3 separate regions of the Homo sapiens genome follow, and all the other regions are linked to region 1. The links are contacts of gene promoters, found by promoter capture Hi-C in human tissues and cell types (Jung and others, 2019). All regions are on one chromosome and are shown on one strand. The core of a region is centred on a gene start or on the middle of the fragment in contact, and the rest is flanking DNA. Distances in the headings are between cores, read along the strand shown. Region 1 holds the start of PAPLN (papilin, proteoglycan like sulfated glycoprotein). Region 2 holds the start of ENTPD5 (ectonucleoside triphosphate diphosphohydrolase 5 (inactive)). Region 3 has its middle 6.4 kb from the start of MIDEAS-AS1.

The links. Contacts are between HindIII fragments. The study calls those that stand out against the background at their distance.
Region 2: a contact is called between the fragment with the promoter of ENTPD5 here and the fragment with the promoter of PAPLN in region 1, in 2 of the 25 tissues and cell types used here (mesendoderm cells and spleen).
Region 3: a contact is called between a fragment that was not itself captured here and the fragment with the promoter of PAPLN in region 1, in 1 of the 25 tissues and cell types used here (dorsolateral prefrontal cortex).

What each region holds. Positions count from the first base shown.
Region 1 is chr14:73,234,362-73,239,438 of GRCh38, forward strand. It overlaps PAPLN (papilin, proteoglycan like sulfated glycoprotein), which reads left to right and starts at 3,145. Exons shown (of 27, transcript NM_001365906.3): 1 at 3,145-3,231. RefSeq lists enhancers at 1,418-1,990, 1,991-2,562, 3,136-3,706 and a silencer at 1,780-2,074. The HindIII fragment of the contact is 14,518 bases long and covers 154-5,077 here.
Region 2 is chr14:74,016,818-74,021,894 of GRCh38, forward strand. ENTPD5 (ectonucleoside triphosphate diphosphohydrolase 5 (inactive)) reads right to left here and starts at 2,471. Exons shown (of 16, transcript NM_001249.5): 1 at 2,433-2,471. BBOF1 (basal body orientation factor 1) reads left to right here and starts at 2,532. Exons shown (of 12, transcript NM_025057.3): 1 at 2,532-2,717. The coding sequence starts at 2,662. RefSeq lists silencers at 1,829-2,123, 2,039-2,108, 2,149-2,288, 2,299-2,368, 2,399-2,648 and enhancers at 4,929-5,077, 4,989-5,077. The HindIII fragment of the contact is 17,677 bases long and covers 1-5,077 here.
Region 3 is chr14:73,778,384-73,783,460 of GRCh38, forward strand. It overlaps a transcript of MIDEAS not described here. Among named protein-coding and RNA genes, the nearest start is that of MIDEAS-AS1, 6.4 kb to the right of the region's middle. The HindIII fragment of the contact is 5,805 bases long and covers 1-5,077 here.

The sequences.
Region 1 (5,077 bases), core at 1,895-4,394:
AAATTTAACAAAAATTTTTTTAGAGACAGGGTCTTGCTCTGCTGCCCGGGCTGGAGTGCAGTGGTGCAATCATAGCTCGCTGCAGCCTCGACATCCCAGGCTCAATTGATCCTCCTGCCTCAGCCTTCCAAGTAGCTTGGCCAGTGGTACCCGACCTTTTTGGCACCAGGGACCAGTTTTATGGAAGAGAATTTTTTCAGGTCTGGGAGCGGGGTGGGATGGTTTCGGGAAGAAACTGTTCCAGTCTAAAGCCTGATCCTGTTCAGATCATCAGGCATCAGAGTCTCCTAAGGAATGCACACCCTAGGTCCCTTGCATGAGTAGTTCACAACAGGGTTCATGCTCCCGTGGGAATCTAATGCTGCCACTGACCTGACAGGTGGCGGGGCTCAGGCAGTAATGCTTGCTCACCTCCTGCTGTGTGCCCGTTCCTAACAGGCCATGGACAGGTACCGGTCCGTGGCCTGGGGATTGAGGACCCCTATCTTGGACTGCAGGCAACTGCCACCATACCTGGCTAATTAAAAAAAAAATTGTAGAGATGGAGGGTCTCACTGTGTTGCCCTGGCTAGTTTTGAACTCCTAGACTTAAGCAATCCTCCCTCCTCAGCCTCTCAAAGTATTGGGACTCCAGGCATGAGCCACTGCGCCCAGATCAGAACTAACTTTTATTCTGCATCTAGTAGGAATTTTATGGAAACCAGTTACTTCCCTACTCTACCACCTGCTGTATGAGTCTCAAGTGAGCAAGTTGTGGCTTAAGGAGGTGACCCGACCTGCCCAAGTACACACACAGTGAGAAGCAGAGCAGCCTTCCAGTCCAGGTCTGCCTCCGCCCCAGGCTACCCCAAACCCCCAATGCGAGGGCGTCTCAGGTGCAGACACTGAGTGGCATAGAGCCAGCACAGAGGGGACTTGACAATAGGAAGGAAGGTCTTACACTTTTTCCTGGAATCTTCTTTCTAAACCACCCTATTTTAATGCATCAGTTCTGTTCACATCTCTGTGAGGTAAGCAGAGGAGAAATGAGGCTTAAAGAGAATATTCCTGCCCAAGCCAGTAATTGCTAGGGCCTGGCTGGTGGGTCTAAGACAGTCCCTTACCACTGAGTGTGGGTTCTGCCTCCCAACCTCAGAGTCCTCTTTGCAGCTGGCGTGAGGCATAAGAAATCACAGCCCTGGGTGTCTGAGAAGAAAGGATCATAGGAAAAGCAGGGACACAGCAGGAAAGTGAGCTCCTTGGGCCTCAGCTTCCCCCACCCTGCAGCGGGAGAAGCATTTTCCTCCCACTTAACAGAGGACCTTTGACCAAGCTCAGAAAAGTCCCAGCTGGTGGGGGCAGGGAGTGGGGCTTGTTGAATGGAAGAAGCGCTTTTCCTCTTTAGAGAGGCTGCATGATTCCACTCCCCTTTCTCTGCCAAGCTTTATCTTTGCTTAAGAATTCACACAACTCCCCAGGGGCCCCGCTACAGCTGCTGCTCCTCCTGTCTTCATTGATAGGTAAGAAATGCACCTGATTTAAACTGATTTAAACTGGCCATGTTCTAATAAGCATTTTGTCCAAACAGGCAGCTGCTGGAGCCAGGGGGCTGAAGTGGGGCTGAGCTTCCCGCTGGTGACTTCTCTTTGCCCAAATGAGGCCAAGGGAGAAGTGGCAGGGCCAGCAAGGGGCTAAAGGCAGAACAGCGTGGGGGAAGGGGACCAGCCTTTGCCACCACCCCACCCCCAACCTCTCCCCAACTTCTTCCCCCCAACCTCCCTCGTGTCCAGGACCAGTTTCTAAAGATGAGTGAATTCCAGTTTCAAAAAAAGAATGGTAGGCAAAGAGTGTCTTGGTTGTGAAAAAGGACAACCAGGAAAACAAATGAAGTTGATCACATGCGTTGAGCCCCTGCCTTGATGCTAATTAGTGCCCTGGCACAGGTGGTGGGGCTGCATTGCAGGCCCTGCCCCCCGGGACTCACAGCTGAGCAAATCACAGCAACAGGGACAGAAACCGAGGGAGCAGGACATGCACCCCATCGGCCTGGGGTGGTGTGGAGACGGCTTCAAAAGCAGGTGACATGCTGGGCACGGTGGCACTTTGGCAGGCCACGGTGGGAAGATTGCTTGAGCTCAGGAGTTCGAGACCAGGTTGGGCGAGACCTTGTTTCTATTTAAAAAAAGAAGAAGAAGGCTGGGCGCAGTGGCTCACGTCTGTAATCCCAGCACTTTGGGAGTCCGAGGTGGGTGGATCACCTGAAGTCAGGAGTTGGAGACCAGTCTGGCCAACAAGGTGAAAACCTGTCTCTACTAAAAATACAAAAATTAGCCAGGCATCATACAGACGCCTGTAATCCCAGCTACTAGGGAGGCTGAGGCTGGAGAATCGCTTGAACCCAGGAGGCGGAGGTTGCAGTGAGCCAAGATCTAGCCATTGCTCTCTACCCTGGGCAACAAGAGTGAAACTCCGTCTAAAAAAAAAAAAAAGAAAAGGAGGGAGGAAAGTAGAAAGAAAGAAAAGAAAGAGGAAGAAAGGGAGGGAGGAAAGTAGAAAGAAAGAAAAGAGGAAGGGAGGGAGGGAAAGAAAGAAGAAAGTGAGGGAGGAAAGTAGAAAGAAAGAAAAGAGGAAGGGAGGGAGGGAAAGAAAGAAGAAAGGAAGGAAAGTGACATTTGACCAAGGTTTTGAGGGCTGACTACGGGTTTGAGAGGTAGAGGGGATTGGGAGAGCGCATTCTGAGTGAGAAAACGTGCTGGGAGATGGGTAACAGCAGCGTGTGCGGAGAAACTCAGTTGCGGCTGAAGAATAGGATCCAGGGGTGGAGAAGGTGGTGGCTGGACACAGGTGTGTTGTGTGTAGGATAGGCATGAAGAGGAGCGGATAGGGCAAAGCTAGAAGGCTTGGGCAAGGGGAAATGGGATTGGAGAGGTGACTGGCGCTGACCCAAGAGAGGACAGACGGGGTGACCAGAGTGGAGGATGAGCCAAGCCTTGGCACAGACCCAAGCGGGTGGAGGCCCCGGGCAACACCGGTCACCACGAGGGCCTCTACGAAGGGCTCTGTCCTCCCACGGGGATTGGAGGTGGGTAAGTGAGACAGGGCGGGGTGGAGGGTGAGGCCAGGCAGCGGCGGAGAGAGAAAGTCCCACCCCTGCGGGCGTTCCTTGCGGCCCGGCCGACCTCGCGGGCTTGGGCCTGGGCGGGCACCGACGGAGCGGCCCTGGCTGCAGCCTCCCGGCGCCAGCGAAGACAGGTAGGGAGGCGGAGGGACTGGAAGCCCCCGGGCGCCCAGCGGCGGGGACCCCGCACCCCGGGGCTTCTGCAGGAATTTGCTCGCCTGGCTCACGGCGACGGGGGTGTCGGAGAAAGTGGGGGCCGCAGAGAAGACCCCGCCCCGGCTCGCTCTCCGGAGGTGGGCGCAGGGTCATCGCTCGGCACCGCGCGCCCCCCGGCCTGGAGGAAAGGAAATGCAGAGAGCCGGGGAGCTGGTGCGGGACGGCCCCGGCGCGCACCCTCCGCCCGCTCGGACCTTCCCTTCAGGCGAATGCCGCTCCCGGCGCGTGGTACAAGCGAGGCCCTGGAGACCGTGCGCCCCTCCCGGGAGGTGCCACTGGGCCGCGGGCCTGGAGCGTCCGGGAGCCCCAGCGGCTGCCGGCACCTGCGCGGCCACCCCGGGCCTCCCGTGGGAACCGCGCCTCTCCGCCTCGGGGGTGCGCGGCGCGTTCCTGGGGTGGGGACGCGGGGTGCCTGGTCAGGGCTGGACCGATGCAGAGGGGGGCCGTGGGCGGGGGCCACGGGGACGGGCGTCTGCGGACTGCGGCGGTCCCGGAGTCGGCTGGGGACCCTGTAGGGGGAGGCTTGGTCGGCGGCCACCCGCCTTCCCGCCCTCTGGCGCCTAGGGTCGCCGCCTTCGGCCCTAGCTCAAGGCAGACGCGTTCCCCGGGAACAACACGTTGAGGGCGCCCACCCTGCGTGCCCGGGGCCACCCGGTCCCTGCCCTCGGGCGGCAGGAGAGGTCGAGCTTCCACGGCCCTCGGAGTAGCCCCGTGACCAGACCCGGACTGGCCTTGGAGTTGAAGGGGTTGTTTGCCACCAAATGAACCGAAAAAACTGAACTTTTCAGACTTCGGAATGGCAGATATGGGCTTGGAGTTCAGTGAAATTGCAGCGGAGGCGGTGGTGTTCTGAGTAATTACAAGTAAAATTCTTCTTTCACCCGTCTTTTCCTCAGCCTCGCCCGCCCTAGCAGGCCTAGCCTGGCCCTAGCAGGGGGCTCCTGCTCTGGGAGCTGCCCCCAGCAGAGCAGAGGCAGGGCTCTGGCAGCAACCCCCTTCCCTCACCCTCCAACCCCAGGAATCTCGAACTTGACCACGAAAATAATGACTCAATGACTCACTGTGCCAAATTAACGAGTGTGTACATTGTTCAGTATGCCAGGTTACATTTCTGCTGAGCTTGGCTTCTGTATGCTGTCTTTTATCCTTGTAAGCAGAAGTCATTTTATATCTTTAAAAAATTAGAACATTGGTAGAATTACAGATTTTAAAGTTCAAACCTGCACGCTAGTACTTGTTTAATGTTTTGTACTGAAGGGCGCACATTGTTTATGTCATTCTGCGATACAGCGACATGTATGTACACATACACACTGCACAGCGTGTATACCGACTGGACACCTGCACCAAATAGTACACACCAGACTGCACATGGACCCGCCCCGCACACTGCACATGCACTTTGCATGCATGCACACATCAAACCACAGACACTCCACACACACTGCACTGCACACTGCCCTGAGCACACTACACTGTACTGCACACTGCACTGCACTTTCAGGGCTCACACGCTGCACCACGCACACTGCACGGCGCACACTGCACTGCATACACACGTTGGTTATGGAGGCTGCTTATGGAGCTTCCCTGTGCAGAGAAATGCTGGCTTGGGTTTTAAATGGGCTACAATTAACACTTTTAGAGCATTTGGGTTTTCAAAGTGTCTTCAGAGACTTGATTTTTTTAAAGCCTATATTAGGAGTTTTTAAACATCTGATGTAATAGCTTTTTTAAAAGGAATCTTGCTGAATTAAAAGTGAG
Region 2 (5,077 bases), core at 1,221-3,720, 780 kb after region 1:
GAATAAATTCCAAATATACAGCCTGTGACAGAAGATGCCCTACTCTCTTTTCTGCAGCTTATCAACAGTGTGCTTTTTCAGAACCTTACACATACAAAATTAATGGTAACTTTATAGATTTTACATCAGAGATAAACTCTTCAATATATGGCGATTCCGCCTATGGACTCACGGGAGTGTGAAAGTATACCAGAAATACACTCAGAAAAAGCTATGATCGGCCAGGCGTGGTGGCTCACGCCTGTAATCCCAGTACTTTGGTAGGCCGAGGCGGGCGGATCACCTGAGGTTGGAAGTTCGAGACTAGCCTGACCAAAATGGAGAAACCCCGTGTCTACTAAAATTACAAAAGTAGCCGGGCATGGTGGCGCATGCCTGGATTCCCAGCTACTCGGGAGGCTGAGGCAGGAGAATTGCTTGAACCTGGGAGGTGGAGGCTGCGGTGGGCCGAGATCGTGCTATTGCACTCCAGCCTGGGAAACAAGAGCGAAACTCCATCTCAAAAAAAAAGAAAAGAAAAAGCCATGATCATGCTGGCAGATGGTATGTATAATAAGGTTTACGCCAGCCTGACCAACATGGAGAAACCCTGTCTCTACTAAAAATACAAAATTAGCCAGGGATGGTGGTGTGTGCCTGTAATCCCAGCTACTCGGGAGGCTGAGGCAGGAGAATCGCTTGAACTGGGAGGTGGAGGTTGCGGTGAGCCGAGATCGTGCCATTGCACTCCAGCCTGGGCAACAAGAGCAAAACTCTGTCTCAAAAAAAAAAAAAAAAAATTTTACAGCCGGGGGCGGTGGCTCATGCCTGTAAATCTCAACACTTTGGGAGACCAAGGCGGGTGGATCACCTGAGGCCAGGAGTTCAAGACCAGCCTGGCTAGCATGGTGAAACTCTGTCTCTACCAAAAATACAAAAATTAGCCTGGCATGGTGGCACGCACCTATAGTCTGTTACTGGGGAGGCTGAGGCAGGAGAATTGCTTGAACCCGGGAGGCAGAGGTTGTGGTGAGCCGAGATTGCGCCATTGCACTCCAGCCTAGGCAACAAGAGCAAAACTCTTGTCTCAAAAAAAAGGTTTACAGCCGGGGCGGTGGCCCACGCCTGTAATCTCAACACTTTGGGAGGCCGAGGCAGGTGGATCACCTGAGGCCAGGAGTTCGAGACCAGCCTGGCCAGCATGGTGAAACTCCATCTCTACCAAAAATACAAAAATTAGCCGGGTGTGGTGGCATGCACCTGTAGTCCCACTTACTGGGGAGGCTGAGGCAGGAGAATCGCTTGAACCAAGGAGGTGGAGGTTGCAGGGAGCCGAGATGCCCCACTGCACTCCAGCCTGGGTGACAGAAGACTCTCTCTCAGAAAAAAAAAAAAAAAAGTTTACAAGGCTTATCATTACCAAATCGGCATGTTCCCTCAGAAGAAACAGAAATTCAGAAACAGAAACTATGCAAGTGGGAAACAAGGCGGAGGGGAGTAATTAGAGGTCAAAGACATCGGGAAGGAGTGTACGGATTAAGTCCTCCCTAGAGAAATGGTGACGAAGGATCTACAACCACATTTAAAATAAACTTTTTAATTTGAAATGGAGTATAACAGAGCAGAGCTTCAACCACAAGTCTCCTAACTATTGGCTTGGCACTCAGAATACCGTACCTTCCTTAATGACTCACTGACTGACTCTCATTGAAAAATGAGAATACTTGTGAGTACACTCCTTTTCAGAGGTGTATTCGGGATTTCAGGAGTCGGGGAGGCAAGTTGAAGAGCTTCCAACTTTATGCAACTTTCAGGAAAGAAGGCTGCGGACCGGTATTAGCAAATGGAAATCCGGGGGGCGGTCGTGGGCAGGAAGTATCGGCCACACAGGACCTAGTGAGGCCGAGGACCCTGCTCCCGACCTCGGTGGCAGCACTCCCCTCCCCGCCCGGCTCCCTGGCGTGCCGCTGCTCTTCGGAGGCTGGCAGCCTCGCCCTCAACCACCGCCCTCGGGAAAGTCCTCGACTGCCTATCAAAAAACATTTGGCCTGGGACGTCCGCTGGCTGCACTATCCCTTACAGAATCAGCAAGGGTGAAAAGCCAGGAAAGAGATGCAACCCAAAGGAGTAAGGCAGTGCCGGGAGCGGCAGAAGCGGAGCGGGGGCGAGGGCAAGGTAGCCGCGGCCACGCTGGCTGCGGCATGGAGACACGGGAGGAACGGGACCCGCGGGCGGCACGGGAAAGGGCTGCGGCTCAGACCACTGCGGCGGGACGGGCGGATCAGCGGGGATCTAAGTCTCCTGAGGCAAGGGCGCCCCGACCGCAGCGACTCCTGACACACCCAGGCCGCAGGACGAAGCGCTACCGCCTGGGGCTGCCAGCTCCCGCCTCCCGCCCGCAGAGCCCGGGCCCCACGTAGAGGATCCGGCGCCGCCGACACTCGCACACTCACCGCGCGCGCGCCACCCTTGCGCGGCAGCCCGCCGCCCTCGGCGCGACCTCCGCCCCACCCCGCGCGCCGCGGCGCCTGGGCTACGTCACGGGCGCGTGCGCTCTCCGCGCGCCGTCAGCGGCGCGGGTGGGGCATTGCCAGCTCGGCGTCCCGGTTCCCTTGGAGACAGAGCTGGCCAGGGCGGCCGCGGCTGGGCAACTACGACAGCGGAGCCCCTGGGGAAGCCAAGATGCCGTCGAAGGGAAAGGACAAAAAGAAAGGCAAGAGCAAAGGCAAAGACACGAAGTAAGGAGAAGCCACCCGAGAGTCCCCTCTCCCTGGGCCTGCCTGGGATTTCGGGTCTGGGGCTGGCAACCTGGCGCCCCCCGCGCCGGCCCACTCGGACCCTCTCCCCGGCTCTCCCGGCTTGTGAGGATTACAGCTCCCATGTCCATAGTCTGGCAGATCTCTACTATGTGTTCAGATTATCTTAAACGTGTAGAGGATGTATAAAGTAGTTCCTTGGGCCTTTTCAGAGATCTCTTTTGGTTCAAAGGGGACACCTAAAGTATTTTACCAAGTTGGATAATTATTGAGGTTTTCCCAAACTGATCAGAGCCACTGAGGTGGGTAATGTTCTAGCACTAACCCCTTACAGGCCTGGAGTTGCTGCTAGATTGCTACTAGCCCTATTGGGGGACCCCGGTGGTTTCTGGACACGTTGGAGTCATACGTGGTGTCCAGCAACAACACCATATATGGGAACACAGAGTTGGCACCAAACTTGAGATGTTTGTAAAGTAACTTAAGAGAGTAATTCATGCTCAATACAGAAAGTTTGGGAAACATGGGAAGTACCAAAAGAAAAAACAAAAATCACCTGTAGTCTCATTATCCAAAAATAAACACTACTATATTTTGGAGTATTCTTTTTTAATAAAACGATAGCCCAATGTACATACTTATATGTGGCTTTTTTCTTCCCATTTGTTAATGTAAGTATTCTTTTATGGTATTTTTTTTTTGTTTTTACATAACTGCACAGTTAGTCTAGCCCTTAAAGTGCCAAGGGCTTATCACATTCCTAGAACTCACTAACATATGTTTTCAGATTTTGACCATGCTTCTACAGTACACATTTGAACAATGAGGAACACTAAGGGTAAGAGACCTTATTCCTTGGATTTTCCATGACCCATTGTTTGAGAAACCTGGCTTTGTTTCTACAGTGAGTATCAGTGGTCCTATTAGAGTGTCTAATTTCTTGCATCAAGTACTTTTTTTTTTTTCTTGACACCAAGTTTTGCTCTTGTTGCCCAAGCCGGAGTGCAATGGCACGATCTCAGCTCACTGCAACCTCTGCCTTCTGGGTTCAACCAATTCTCCTGCCTCAGCCTCCCGAGTAGCTGTGATTACAGGCACCCGTCACCACGCCCAGCTAATTTTTTTATTTTTAGTGGAGACAGGGTTTCACCATGTTGGCCAGGCTGGTCTCGAACTCCTGACTTCAGGTGATCCACCCGCCTCGGCCTCCCAAAGTGCTGGGATGACAGCCGTGAGCCACCATGCCCTGTCGCATCAAGTACTTCGAGCCACTCAGACCTGATACCTGGATGGTCGTAGTGAGACAGTGTATCACTAGTGCCTAAATCATGCCAGAAAGGGACATCAACAGCTATAACAGGCTGAGGGGTTGGGAATGGAGCTGGCCTTAATTTGAAGAGAACAAAAGGTGAAAGTGGGACTTTGGTTCTCTCCACTGCAAACCCATTACCTCTGTGGAAGAGGACTGAGAACCAGAGGTAGGAAAGTGGATGTGGAGGGTGGCAGTATAGAAAGGTCCACATGTACATATGTGTGAAAATATTTAGAATTCAAATACAGGTGAAATATTCTTAAATATGTACATATTTATATATCATGGTACCTACCATATATAAGGGGGAGTGTTTTGTTAATGCTTATACAATAAATATTTAGAAAAATCTCTTCCTTTACCACTTTAATCTTTGAATCCATCCTTTTTCCTCTCCACCTCTATATAAATGATTATGGTTTCTCAGGCATCCTTAAAGCCCGGTGGGTGGGGCATCGTGGCTCATGCCCAGCACTTTGGGAGGCTGAGCAGGGGAAGATCACTTGAGCCCAGGAGTTCAAGACCAGCCTGAACAACATAGGAAGACCCTGTCTCTACAAAAATTTTTATTAAAAATTAGTTGGGCATGCTAACTCATGCCTGTAGTCACAGTTACTTAGGAGGCTGAGGTGGAGGATCGTTTGGGCCTGGGAGGTTGAGGCTGCAGTGAGCTGTGATGGTGCTACTGCACTACAGCCTGGATGACAGAGCAAGATCTTGTTTCAAAAAAAAAAAAAAAGTCCGGTGAACTGTGGCACCAGCTGATAAACTATTTAACGTATTTGCCCTAGTGACTTGACTTTTTGTCCAAGACCTAGCCCAAAACAAAACAAAACAAAAACACCATCCTGGCTAACACGGTGAAACCCCGTCTCTACTGAAAATACAAAAAATTAGCCGGGCCTGGTGGCGGGCTCCTGTAGTCCCAGCTACTCGGGAGGCTGAGGCAGGAGAATGGCATGAACCTGGGAGGCGGAGCTTGCAGTGAGCCGAGATCACGCCACTGCTCTTCAGCCTGGGTGAAAGAGTG
Region 3 (5,077 bases), core at 1,565-4,064, 540 kb after region 1:
GGGAAGGTCACGACTGTTGTGGTTACAGCTACTTTTCTTTTCCTCCATAACTGGAGAAGTCAGATCCTAAATGCCACGTGTCAGCACAGCCTCCTTGGAGAGATGGTAGAAGAAATCTTGTTGAGCCTTTCCACCACCTCTAGTGCAAGTGGAAGAGGGGGTCACCGAGTGGCTATTGGCTTCTAAGTTGTTCCAGAGCATGTGCTATGGGGAGGCCACAGAGGAAGCAGACACATCTTGCTGGTCGATTCCTTGCAAGCTTCTTATAGTGGCCTGCAATGGGGAGGCTGAGGAGGGGACATGGAGGGCTAGGCCCTTACTGTAAAGTGTCTGCTGCACATGGGCACTGCCCTCTCCCAGCCCCACACCAGGGCTGGGTCAACCCAAGCACAAGTTTTTCATCTGCAATCCTGGATGATATAACTGCAGTTTAAAACCTACTCCATGGATCTCCTCTCCATCGCACTCTGCCCATTTAGTCTAAGAGCCTTTCATGCTTAATCTCATATGATGATTTCCTAACTTACAGCACCCATGACCTTCTCATGAGACACAGGACAATGGAATCTGTTCACATGTTCATTTAACTTATGCAAATTCAAATGGTCAAGCTTAGCAGAAGACAGAAGACAAAGGAAGACAGGAGGAAGGAGGAAGTTAGGGAGGTAGGAGGAAAAGGAAAACAAACAAACAAAAAAACAAAATAGAACAAGAAGAAATAGCCGGGCATGGTTGGCGCATGCCTGTAATCCCAGCTCTTTGGGAGGCTGAGGCAGGTGGAGTACTTGAGGTTAGGAGTTCGAGACCAGCCTGGCCAACATGGTGAAACCCTGTGTCTACTAAAAATAAAACAATTAAAAAATTAGCCGGGTGTGGTGGCGGGTGCCTGTAGTCCCAGCTACTCAGGAGGGTGAGGGAGGAGAATCACTTGAACCCGGGAGACGGAGGTTGCAGTGAGCCTAGATTGCACCACTGCACTCCAGCCTGGACGACAGAGCACGATTCCATCTCAAAAAAAAAAAAAAAAAAGTGCAACTTCTTCCAGAACTAAAGGAGCAGGCTAAGGTGAATTGACGCATCAAGAGCCAGTGTGTCTGTTGCCTACCTGGTGCCCTCCTAATATATAATCAAGGTTAATCTTGATTACATTCTTTTATTTTTTTTTAATTTGTTTATTATTATTATTATTATTTTTTTTTTTTTTTGAGACGGAGTCTCGCTCTGTCGCCCAGGCTGGACTGCGGACTGCAGTGGCGCAATCTCGGCTCACTGCAAGCTCCGCTTCCCGGGTTCACGCCATTCTCCTGCCTCAGCCTCCCGAGTAGCTGGGACTACAGGCGCCCGCCACCGCGCCCGGCTAATTTTTTGTATTTTTAGTAGAGACGGGGTTTCACCTTGTTAGCCAGGATGGTCTCGATCTCCTGACCTCATGATCCACCCGCCTCGGCCTTCCAAAGTGCTGGGATTACAGGCGTGAGCCACCGCGCCCGGCCTATTATTTTTTTTTGAGACAGAGTCTTGCTCTGTTGCCCAGGCTGGAGTGCAGTGGCACCATCTCAGCTCACTGCAAGCTCCTCCTCCCGGGTTCACACCATTCTCCCGACTCAGCCTCCCGAGTAGCTGGGACTACAGGTGCCTGCCACCACGCCCAGCTAATTTTTTTGTATTTTTTAGTAGAGATGGGGTTTCACCGTGTTAGCCAGGATGGTCTCCATCTCCCGACCTCATGATCCACCAGCCTCGGCCTCCCAAAGTGCTGCGATTACAGGCGTGAGCCACCGCGCCCGGCCGATTATATTTTTATATTTCATATTACACACTGACTTTAGAATCTGAACCTCAGAAAACGCCACTCCATCAAATTATACTCTCCCAGTGACAGATCCACTCTCAGTTCTTCCCCCATCCCACCCTCTTCCACTTGCTCTAGAGGTGATGGAAAGGGTCAGGATTTCTTCCACCATCTCTCCATGGAAGCTGTGCTGACCACAAGCATTTAGGATCTGACTTCCCCAGTTATGGAGAAAAAGAAAAGTGGCCATAGCCGTAACAGTAGTGACCTTCCCCGTCATGGTTTATAAGGGACTATTCCTCGGGTTCTTCATTCTTTCACTCACTCATGCATGGGTATGACCTATCTCAGGAGCTAGGCTTGAAGCCTCCTGGGGGTAAGGAGCATGTGGCACTCTGCTTTCCACACTCACATGGTTGACAGCACTGCAGCTGTTCCACAAATGGCCGGTGAGGACAGTTGGCCCTGCATTAACTGGCTGTTCAAAGAGTGCCATGCCTGTGTTCCTGGGCCTTCTCCTGCCTGTGTCTTGGGAACTGGGAGCATTCCTCTGTCTTCTTGGTGTTGTTTAACCCATGTTCTGCACTTAGAAAACAGTAAGTAATCTTGTTGGCCAACTGAGCCTGGGTAGGAAACTTTGGGGGCTTTGATAGCAATTAAGATCCACTAAGACTACAATGAGATAATACAATGGTAAAAGCTATTAAATACGCATCCCACTCTCTTCTTAAAGACCTCTTCTTCACCCCTAGTTTTTTTTGTTTTTTTGTTGTTGTTGTTGTTGTTAAGTTTCACCTTTTTAAATCTTTGAGTACTGCCTTAGGGAAACTGAGAAGATGGAGTCCTTGGTTTACAAATAGACCTGCTGAAACTGACGATTATGATGACTAATTATCAATGCAGGATGGCCAGTGGAAATGGAGAATGGGGTTTGTGCCTGACTCTTCCATTCAACAGCTGTGGGAACTTGGAGAAGGAACTTATCCTCTCTAAGCCTCAGTTAAAATGAGAGTTAGCACAGGTTTCCTTCCAAGCTTTAAATCCTTAACCATGGGATTATCGGAGATGCTGTTACTACAGTTACTATAAAACTGGGGCTGGATGATAACAGTCCGTAAGATCCTATCCAATTCTAAAAGTTGATTATTTTGTAAAATAGCACATCTGAAAAAATGTTGATTTATTAAACTCAGTTTATACATAACTTTTCAGAAATATGTAAATCCCAGTTTCACCCTTTTATGTTTATTAAGAACTTTCAATTAAAACTGACTTCAGGCCAGCCGCGGTGGCTCATGCCTGTAATCCCAGCACTTTGGGAGGCGGAGGAGGGCAGATCACCTGAAGTTGGGAGTTCGAGACCAGCCTGACCAACATGGAGAAACCCTGTCTCTACTAAAAATACAAAATTAGCCAGGTGTGGTGGCGCATGCCTGTAATCCCAGCTACTCGGGAGGCCGAGGTAGTAGAATCACTTGAACCCGGCAGGCAGAGATTATGGTGAGCCAAGATCGTGCCATTGCACTCCAGCCTGGGCAACAAGAGCGAAACTCTGTCTCAAAAAAAAAAAAAAAAAAAAAACTGACTTCAGGCCAGACACGGTGGCGCACGCCTGTAATCTCAACACTTTTTGAGGTTAGGGAGGCCAAGGCGGGTGGATCACCCGAAGTCAAGGGTTCAAGACCAGCCTGGCCAACATGGGGAAACCTTGTCTTTACTAAAAACACAAAAATTAGACGGGCGTGGTGGCAGACATCCATAATCCCAGCTACTCAGGAAGCTGAGGCAGGAGAATCGCTTGAACCTGGGGTGCGGAGGTTGCAGTGAGCCAAGATCACACCACTTCACTCCAGCCTGGGTAGAGTAAAAAACAGGAATCTACCAGATTCTATTTTTAAATAAAACAAAACGTTAAAAGAATCTAGCTTATACGTGCATTTTATAGTATGTGAATTATTTTTCAAAAAAGAAAGAATCTGGCTTATGAGGCAAGGTTGTGATTAACAGCATGAGGACTGGCTAAAGGCAACACAGTCCTCCTAGCCAAGTCCAATGCTAGGGTTCAGCCAGGATCTCCCCAAAACTCAGTTTTATAGTTTAGCCTGGTTTTGTAAGTTCAACACCTATTTGGGCAAAACAAGCATGCGGCCAACCAGGAAGCCTCACTTTGCCCTCCTCACAGTCTATATATATATATAGATATATGAAGAGAGAGAGAGAATCTCTGTCACCCAAGCTGGAGTGCAGTGGCATGCAATCCTCCTACCTCAGCCTCCCAAGTAACTGGGACTACAGGCACGTGCCACCGTGCCTGACTAATTTTTTGCATTTTTTTACAGAGAAGGGGTCTTGCCACATTGCCTAGGCTGGTCTTGAACTTCTAGGCTCAAGTGATCCTTCCGCCTCAGCCTCCCAAAGTGCTGGGATTATTGGCATAAGCCACCGCACCTGGCTGTCTTCACAAGTCTTGCCTGCAAGTTGGTCCTACCTCCTTCTATCAGATTGGTTCCTCAGAAGGTCAGGCCAACCCAAGTAACAAACTATCTCACCTCAGAGCCAGAGCAGAGGTGTAGGGCATCACAGGGCAGGCTGACTGGGACAAAAGGAGCCAGGGCCAAAGCTGGGAAGATACTGACAGTCAGGAAAGAGATGCTGGAAATGGAGCAAAACAATGAGGTGCAAAGCCAGGAGGAGCCTGAGGGCAGCTAACAGGCAGAGGAGGCAGGCTTGGCTTAATGCTCAGAATTGAGACCAGGAACCACGGCCTTTGGTGCTTGGCTTGGGTGTCCAAGTGGACGAAATCTGATGGCCACTGCTCTTTGTATCAGCATCACAAAACATTTATTGAGACTTGCTATGAGTGGGGCACCAGACCTGGGGATACAAAGATATATAAAACAGGGCTTCCAGTTTAGTTGAAGAATTGTAGTATTTATTCACCCAAAGGCTCATTTAATTTGCTGAACAGGGGATATGATCAAAGTCATGGCCCAAAAGAGAAAGTGAAAATTCTTAGACCAGGACTCAAGGTTTTCCTCAGCACAGGGCCCAGGGTGATGTTGCTGGAGTCCCGGGGGAGGCCCACAGGGTGGGACAGGGAGAAATTCTCAAGGAGGAGGACACAAACAGGACTGGAAGGGGAGCAGGACTGAGCCAAGCGGATGAGAGGAAAGAGGCATTCCAGTCCTCTGGGGAAGCATGGGAGGTAGGAATTCTTGCCATCAGTGGTTTGGACAAACACACAGAGTGGGTCACCGGGTCAGAGCCGAGGGTTAGGACGGGAGA